Regions from separate parts of the Homo sapiens genome. Here region 2 is linked to region 1. Evidence: promoter capture Hi-C in 16 types of primary human blood cells and fetal thymus (Javierre and others, 2016). All regions are on one chromosome and are shown on one strand. Each heading gives the region's core, a stretch centred on a gene start or on the middle of the fragment in contact. The rest is flanking DNA. Distances are from core to core; before and after follow the strand shown.

The links. Contacts are between HindIII fragments. The CHiCAGO score rates a contact against its expected background, and 5 or more counts as called.
Region 2: a contact is called between a fragment that was not itself captured here and the fragment with the promoter of LINGO1 in region 1, in 1 of 17 cell types (endothelial precursors). The highest score is 5.7, in endothelial precursors.

Annotation. Positions count from the first base shown.
Region 1 is chr15:77,630,947-77,634,546 of GRCh38, reverse strand. LINGO1 (leucine rich repeat and Ig domain containing 1) reads left to right here and starts at 1,635. Exons shown (of 2, transcript NM_032808.7): 1 at 1,635-2,237. The coding sequence starts at 2,232. RefSeq lists enhancers at 682-811, 253-816. The HindIII fragment of the contact is 14,548 bases long and covers 1-3,600 here.
Region 2 is chr15:77,122,216-77,125,815 of GRCh38, reverse strand. The region is part of intron 9 of PEAK1 (pseudopodium enriched atypical kinase 1); the gene reads left to right. Among named protein-coding and RNA genes, the nearest start is that of TSPAN3, 53 kb to the right of the region's middle. The HindIII fragment of the contact is 2,001 bases long and covers 780-2,780 here.

The DNA.
Region 1 (3,600 bases), core at 386-2,885:
GGGCAGAGCCTGGAACCTCTCTGGGCCTGGGCTTCCCTCCCTCTGTCACAGGGGAACAATAGTGCCTCCCCCAGAGTTGCTGGAGGGTGAACGTACAGTTCACAGTAGAGCATAGCATGGACGCCTGCTAGGAGGGACTCTAGCTAGGCCTAGGTTGAGGATGGGCATAGACATAGGAGACAGGAGAAAGTGCTCCAGACAGGACTGTCCAGAGCAACGGTGTGCCAGAGAGACTGAGAAGTACCCAGAAATGGTGCAGCTGGAACAGAAGGTCTGTGCAAGCCTTTGGGCTGTGTGTGAGGCTGAACAGCGAGAAACAAGGTGCTGTTGGGGGTGGGGAGAGGTCCCTCCGTGGCAACCAGGCATCTCTGCAATGATGTTGCGCAGGCTTCCTGGGAGAGGGGGTGTCACTGGAACTGGGATTCCAGCGTCTGCCCCAGAATCCGAGAGGCTTTGGGCTAGATCCCCTCCCCCAGCCTCAGCTGCCCCTGTGGACTCAAGCTATTAGGAGTATTCATGTGCTAATGGGTTGTTCCCAGCAGGGGAGGAGGGATGGCCGTGCCGGGCGGTGTCAGCATTGATGGTTATTCTAATAAAACTGGCTTGGTGGTAAAGGGCGTCTGGCTTCAAGGAGATGGAGGGGGTAGTATAGGGAAAAAGGTGAGGTCCTGAGGGTGGTAACCTACTCTGCAGGCTTTGCCAAGACATCCCTGCTGGCCTAGTTTCTGTATCTGAGGATCAAGGAGGATCTGGATCTCCGAGGAGAGGTCCCATTCCTTGGGCCCGTCTGAAGTTGTGGCCCCAGCCGAGGATCCCCGGGACCATTCCGGGAGGAGGGAACAGTCAAGCCCAGGCGGAGGCTCTGCGCTGCCCTCTGCTGGCCACTGGGTGCAGGGCCTCCGGACGGAGCGGGCCAGAGAGGCCTGCCGCCCTCTGCTGGACAGGAAGCCAGGCTGGGCGGGGACCCCGGCTCCTGGGTAGAGCTGCCGGGCCAGCGCGGCTTCCTCGCCGTCCCCTGGAGCTTCCCATTCTGCCTGCCTCGCCCTCCCGCGCTAGAATGTGGGCCCTCTAGCCTCGCGGACTTTCGAGAGGAGGGGACAGGGCCAGGACGGGGGCTCCCGGTCGGCCTCCCCATGCCGCCCTCCAAACAACCCTGTTCGTGTAGGGAGCCCTGTCCGTCCTCGTGCGTGTGTTCGTCCACAGCCCAGTTAACACGTGTAAACACACTCGCGCGCTCACATGCACACGCATGTGGCAACACAAAAATCACACACAACGGTGTGCGCGCATACACCCAGGGAGGACCGCACGCCGGACTCCCCGACACCCGGCTGGCCCGGGACTCGCCCAGAGCCCCGGACCCGGAGGGGCGCGGCCGTGTGCAGAGCTGGAGCGCCTGGCTGGTGCGCCCCTCGCCTGCGCACCCCTGCCTGTTTCGCTGCCCTAAGCGTGCAGGGCAGCGGCTGGGGCGCCCCTCGCTCTCCGCCCCCTCCGCTGAAAGGAGACGAACCACCCCCCACCCCACCACCACCATCACCAGGTTTTGCGGCCGCGCCTTCTCCTCCCCCGCCCGGCTCCCGCGGCTCACTCGCTCCCTCCTCCCTCGATCCCTCCTCCCTCCCTGGCTCGCTCCTAGTGCTCCCTCCCCGCGCCGCTGCAGAGCGCGGAGCCCGAGCGGGAGCCGGCGCGGGAGCCGGAGCGGGCGGCGGGCGACAGCGCAGGCGGCGGCGGCGGCGGTGGGTCCTGGTCCCGGCCCCGGAGGGCGCGGAGTCCCCACCCGCGCCGCTCCGGCCCCTCTCCCGACGCGGGGCGCCGAGCAGCATGCGCGGCCGCTGCCCGCCGGCCCCGGCCCCGCGGCGGAGCGCGCCCGGCCTCGACCCCGGCCCCAGCGGCAGAGGCGGCGGCGGCGGCTCCGGGCCGGCCCAGGGGGCAGAAGCAGGCTCGCGCAGCCCCTGTCCCGCGGCCTGAGCGCGCCCGCCCATCCGCCCGCCGGGGCCGCGGCCTCCCGCCTCCCCACTCCCGAGCCCCGGCCCCGGCTCCGGCTCGGCTCCCGCCCGCGCGGGGCGGACAGACGGACAGCCAGCCCCGCGAGGGCGCGCGGACTGCCGGGCGGAGGTGTCGGAGGAGGAGGAAACGGAGGAGGGGGCTGGGCAGGGGCTGGGGCCTGGTCGGGCCGGCTGGAGAGACATGCGATTGGTGACCGAGCCGAGCGGACCGAAGGCGCGCCCGAGATGCAGGTGAGCCAGGCGGCCGCGGCCGAGCCCCGAGCGGGCAGCCCCGCGGCGAGTGCCCCTGGGGGCCGCCATCGGCCCTGGCTGCGCCCTCCTGGGGTTGCAGGGCACCTCGGTGCCACCCAGACCTCCTTTGGGGTCATAGGCCTGATTTCCCCTCAAGCCTCAGAAATGAAAATTCTTCCTTTTCCACCTCCCCTCTCTCCAACCCCAACAAATTCCGGGTTTGTAAGCTGGGAGCCTGGAGCTGGGGAGGGGCCCCCACGGGTGTCCCAGACCTGCTCTGGTCTCCCCTTCCTGTCCCCCCTCCCATTCTGAGTATTGGTCACTCTAGAGGGTAAGCCCCCTGCTCAGCCCTGGGTGGGTACCTCCCTTCGTGGACCCCAGGTACCCCCAGGCAGCCCCCACCAGCACCAGACACTCCCTAGCTGGTGGACACAGGTCAGGGGCTGGGTTTCTCCACAAGCTCCAGCCTGGATGGCAGCTCCCCACCACACACAAGCATCGCCCCTTTCCAGCTCCTGCCCAGTGAAAAGGAGATGGGGAGTAGGGAGAGTGGAAGGAAGGGAGTTGGGGACCGGGAGCGCCCAGGAACGCTTTAGGGGCCTCCCCTTTGTCTGCGTTCAGCCCGGGCTTCTCACCTCCTCTTGCCCCACTTTTCATTCTAAGGCAGAGCGGGTGGGAGGTGGGAACCAGCTGAGAAGAGGGAGGTAAGGAGGGAGCCTCCTGCTCCCCCTCACACCCTTTTCGGGGTGGGCTGTGGGCTCTCTGCTCTCAAGGCATGCCAGGAGATGTGACCCTCCGGGCGGATCCCACTTTGAGAAGGAGGGGTGGGGCCAGGCCAGTGGGCAGCCCCTCCCGGTTCCTGCTGGGGTCGCAGCCCAGCCTGGTCCAGCCTGACTGTGCCTGCACCTCCTCTTTGTTCTCAGAGGCCTTGGGGTTGGGGTGGGGCAGAAGGGGGCCTGAGAGGATGGGAAGAGCTCTGCCCTGAGCGGGTGGGAGTGCAGGAGGCCCTGAGGTAGGGGCTGTGGCATCTGGACAGCCCCTTCCTGCTCGCCCAGCCCTCCCTCAGTCCTCTGCTTGGTTTGGGCAGCCAGAGGGCGCATAGCCCAGCCTGGCCCGCGGCTCTGGGCTCAACCCTGTTGGTCATTATGCCAGTGGCTTCAGCACTGGTGCCTCCCATGCCCAGGGAGCAATGAGCCGGGACACCCAGGCGGCAGAGAGCCTGGGGCTTCCCCAGATCCAGCGCAGAGTGTCAGTGAGGAGAAGAGGGCCAGCTGCTCCCAGACCCTTTGTCCTTGTATAAGCCAGGGAGGAGCTCAAAATCCTCACGCCTCTGGGAAGGCACTAGCAGCAGGTCTACTGGGAT
Region 2 (3,600 bases), core at 531-3,030, 510 kb after region 1:
TCCTACAGAATCAGAATGACTGGCAGTAAGGCCTTGGAAACTGCATTTGTAGCAAGTACCCCAAGCGGTGCCTAGGTACAAAATGTGAGGACTGTTAACAAAGTGGCTAAGAATTTAGGCTTTTAAGTCAGACAGACCTGGGTTTAAATCTGTGCTTTAGCTACATATTAGCTGTTACCTTTGCCATTACTTGCCTTTTCTATATCCAGTGTCTTTATCTGTAAAATGGAAAAAATACTTCAGGTCTTCTTAAAACCATTGTAAAAAATCACAGAAGTTAATATGTATGTGGTGATATATATACACACACACACACATACACACACACACACACACAGTGCTGAGAGCATCATTTGGCACAAAGTTAAGCATTTAGTAAAAGTTGGTTATTCCTTCCTTTTCACATACTTAGAAAGCTCCTATGTATTCTTAAAGAATCCAGCTCTGAATTTTCTACTTTAATTTTCTGAGCACATGTTGCACGCTATACCTACTGGATTTCTTGATCATTGCATTATCATGAGACAGTTGTATAATTAAACAAAAACATGCTTCCTCTCCCCTCTCCCCACTATTATACTTGACCTTTTCCATGGCGGGGACCATGGCTTATTAATTCTTATATCCTTAGCATCTATTATAATATCATGTCCATAGCTGGCATTCAATAAATATTTCTTGACCCTTCAAAAAATGTTTACTGTATAAAACATTGTGATATTTGTTGTAGTTTACAGAAATACATATGAATGAAACAAAGGCCTTGCCCTCAAGAAGCTTATATTCCAGTAAGAAAGACAAAGGCATAAATAATAGCTCTTAAAACAGATTATAATGAAAGTTCAGAGTGGTATGCAGAGATGTAAAGATAAATGAAGATTAATGAATGAAATAAGTTATTAACACATATCTTGGGGCCAATAAGAAAGGGCCTTTTGTATCCACTTTGCTATTCTTTGTGGTAAATGCAGTACATTGAGAGAATAGTGGAAAATTAGGCTACGGAGAGATTAGAGAACAAATTTAGAGATTTGAGTGATGAGCTTAAGAGGTTAGACTTTATTTTGTGTTTTGTGGGAAGCCACTAAGTATTTTTAAACAGAAATAACATAAGATTTTGGATGACAACTATGGTAAGAGAGGTCAGAAGGACTGGAAGCAAGGAAGCCAGTCATTATGCTATTGCAGTAGTCCAGGTAAAATGAGACCTGATGTAAGGCAAAGGAAAAGAAGGGGCAGATGGCTAAAGAGCTGAGGAAGGCAGTAGACCATGTCTGGTGAGTATGGGATTAGGGCAGTGATGCTAAAATTTCAAGGTAGAACAACCTCCAAGAGAATGGTGATGCCATTAGTTGAAATATGAATCAGAAAAGCCAGAAAGATGAGATCTCAATGGGTTATGCCCATAGGGCAGCCAAGTTGAAAGAACCCCAGGAACCAGGTAAAAATATGGGTTTGGTACTCAGAAGAGAGCTCAAGCCTAGAAATGTGGTCATAGACTTGATTTAGTTGAAACTGTGGGACTACATGAGATTGTAATGGAAGAGTCTGCAAAGTGGGAAAAGGCCCACACATCTAAGTGACCCAAAGCAGGAGCAATTGGAAAATCTGTAGCAAAAGGCAGGGCCCTACAGGCCAGAGAGTCCAAGGTTGCAGAGGGCTTGTGCAGAATGAAGACTCAGAAGAAGGCAAGAATTTAATGTCTTGTAAGCCTCAAGAAAATGCAATGTTGGTAATAATTGGGGTGAATGCCAGACACAGTGAGTTAAAGAGCGAATAGGAAGAGGAAGCTGTGGAGGCAGTGAGCACAGCCTACTTTTTAAATAAATGTTTTGGTGAAAGAAGAGCCAAATTGATTTCCAAACAATATTTAATTTTCAACTCCCATTTTCCATCTCATCCATATCTTCTTTTATCCTCTCTTCCCCATTTGATGAGCCACCACCCAGATTGCATTGTCTGTCTCTGTGGGCTATATATTGGCTGGCCTTCTGCCGTTAACTTAAATATTCCTGCTCGCAAAGTAAAACTTAACATAAACTTAAGCCTGAACTTAACTTCCCTGTTCTCTAAATAAAAATCTACCTTGCTTTTTCCCTTTCAAAGAATCTGGGTAAGCACTGACCAAGTACATAATCCTCATATCCTCATAGTAGACTAAATCCTCATATCTAAATCCATAGTAGACTAATCCCTCATATCCTCATAGTAGACTAAAGCCAATTTTAGAAGGGCCTTCACCATTCTACACAGTGGGAAACTAAGGCCAGAGAGGAACAATCACTTCTGCATGGGGACACCATCTTCGTGGCAGGCTACCTCCTGACTCCTAGGTAGAACCTCTCCTATTATTTCATGCCTGAAGCAGTAAACTGACCTTGCTGTGTCTCAGTGTTGTTTCTTGATGGAAAAATGACAGCCTTTTGCTTAGAATCAGGATGGACAGTTGGCAAAATTATGGCTTAGTATCACTGAGATATTGTTTTTTCATTGCACTTATGAGATCATTTTATAAAAAGTACTACCATGCGAGACCACAGAGGAAATTTGGATGCAGTTACTTTGAAGAGGATGCTAAAAATTTCACATAAGCAAAAAGTATAAATTTTTTAGTTATTTTCCAACAGTTCCAGAATTGGGATAGTAGGTATCTTTAAAGTAGTCCCAGTCTTTGTTCTCAAGGATAGAACACACAAAACTCAGTAAAGATGTACACTTCCCTGTTACAAAAGCGGGGCTGCTTCCTTTCTTCCGGCTATGCCAGAATCTTGTTAAAAGCTTGTAATAATGTAGAGGTGAACTGTGGAGACCAACATCTTTTACTGCATTTTTGACTCCAGAGTCTCCGTTTATCTCATTTGGGTGGATGCTGACAAAACAAGATACTAAATGAAAAAGCATTACAGGAACAACTATGATTGGTAGGAATTTACAACTAGTTCAGACTATATATACAGACAATTAATTACTGGCTTAGTGGTGAGGAAAAAACTAGAGGGGAAACCACTTCCACTTTCATAATTCAAAATAAATATTTTTAACAGTGAAACTTTACAGAAAGTGATTGATCAGCAGCCAACTACACATACTCATGGCCATCCTAGTTTTGTGTCCGTTTTGTTTCAGGCTCAGTGCATACAGAAGCACCTGAGTCTCAACTGGGAATTGATTTAGGAAGGAGAGGTTTTGGATGTTTGTGTAAACCTGGAATCAAAATGAGTTGTCTGGTGGGAAAAGGGAGCATGGCTTTAATTAATGAGGTGAGAGGATATAGTTGAGAATCACAAGTTGGAATTCAAGTTAATTGAATTCCTAATGTGGGCCCTGAGCTGGTTATTGGACTACTCTGTGCCTCAGTTTCTCTAGTGTGAACATCCTGGGCATCATTCTGTCAGCCTAAATTACTGGCTCAGGAACACAAGTTATTTTCATTGGATACACATGCTGAGTGGGAGAGTGAAAAGCTTTGGTGAGTACAAGTCACAAATAAAATGGTGAAATCTTACACAGTTACCTTCTTGAATTTCTCTTCTAGGATCCAAAATCACTTTCTTGGGCATGTGAACATTTTTGCAGCAATTCAAGCTGTAAATTATCTGG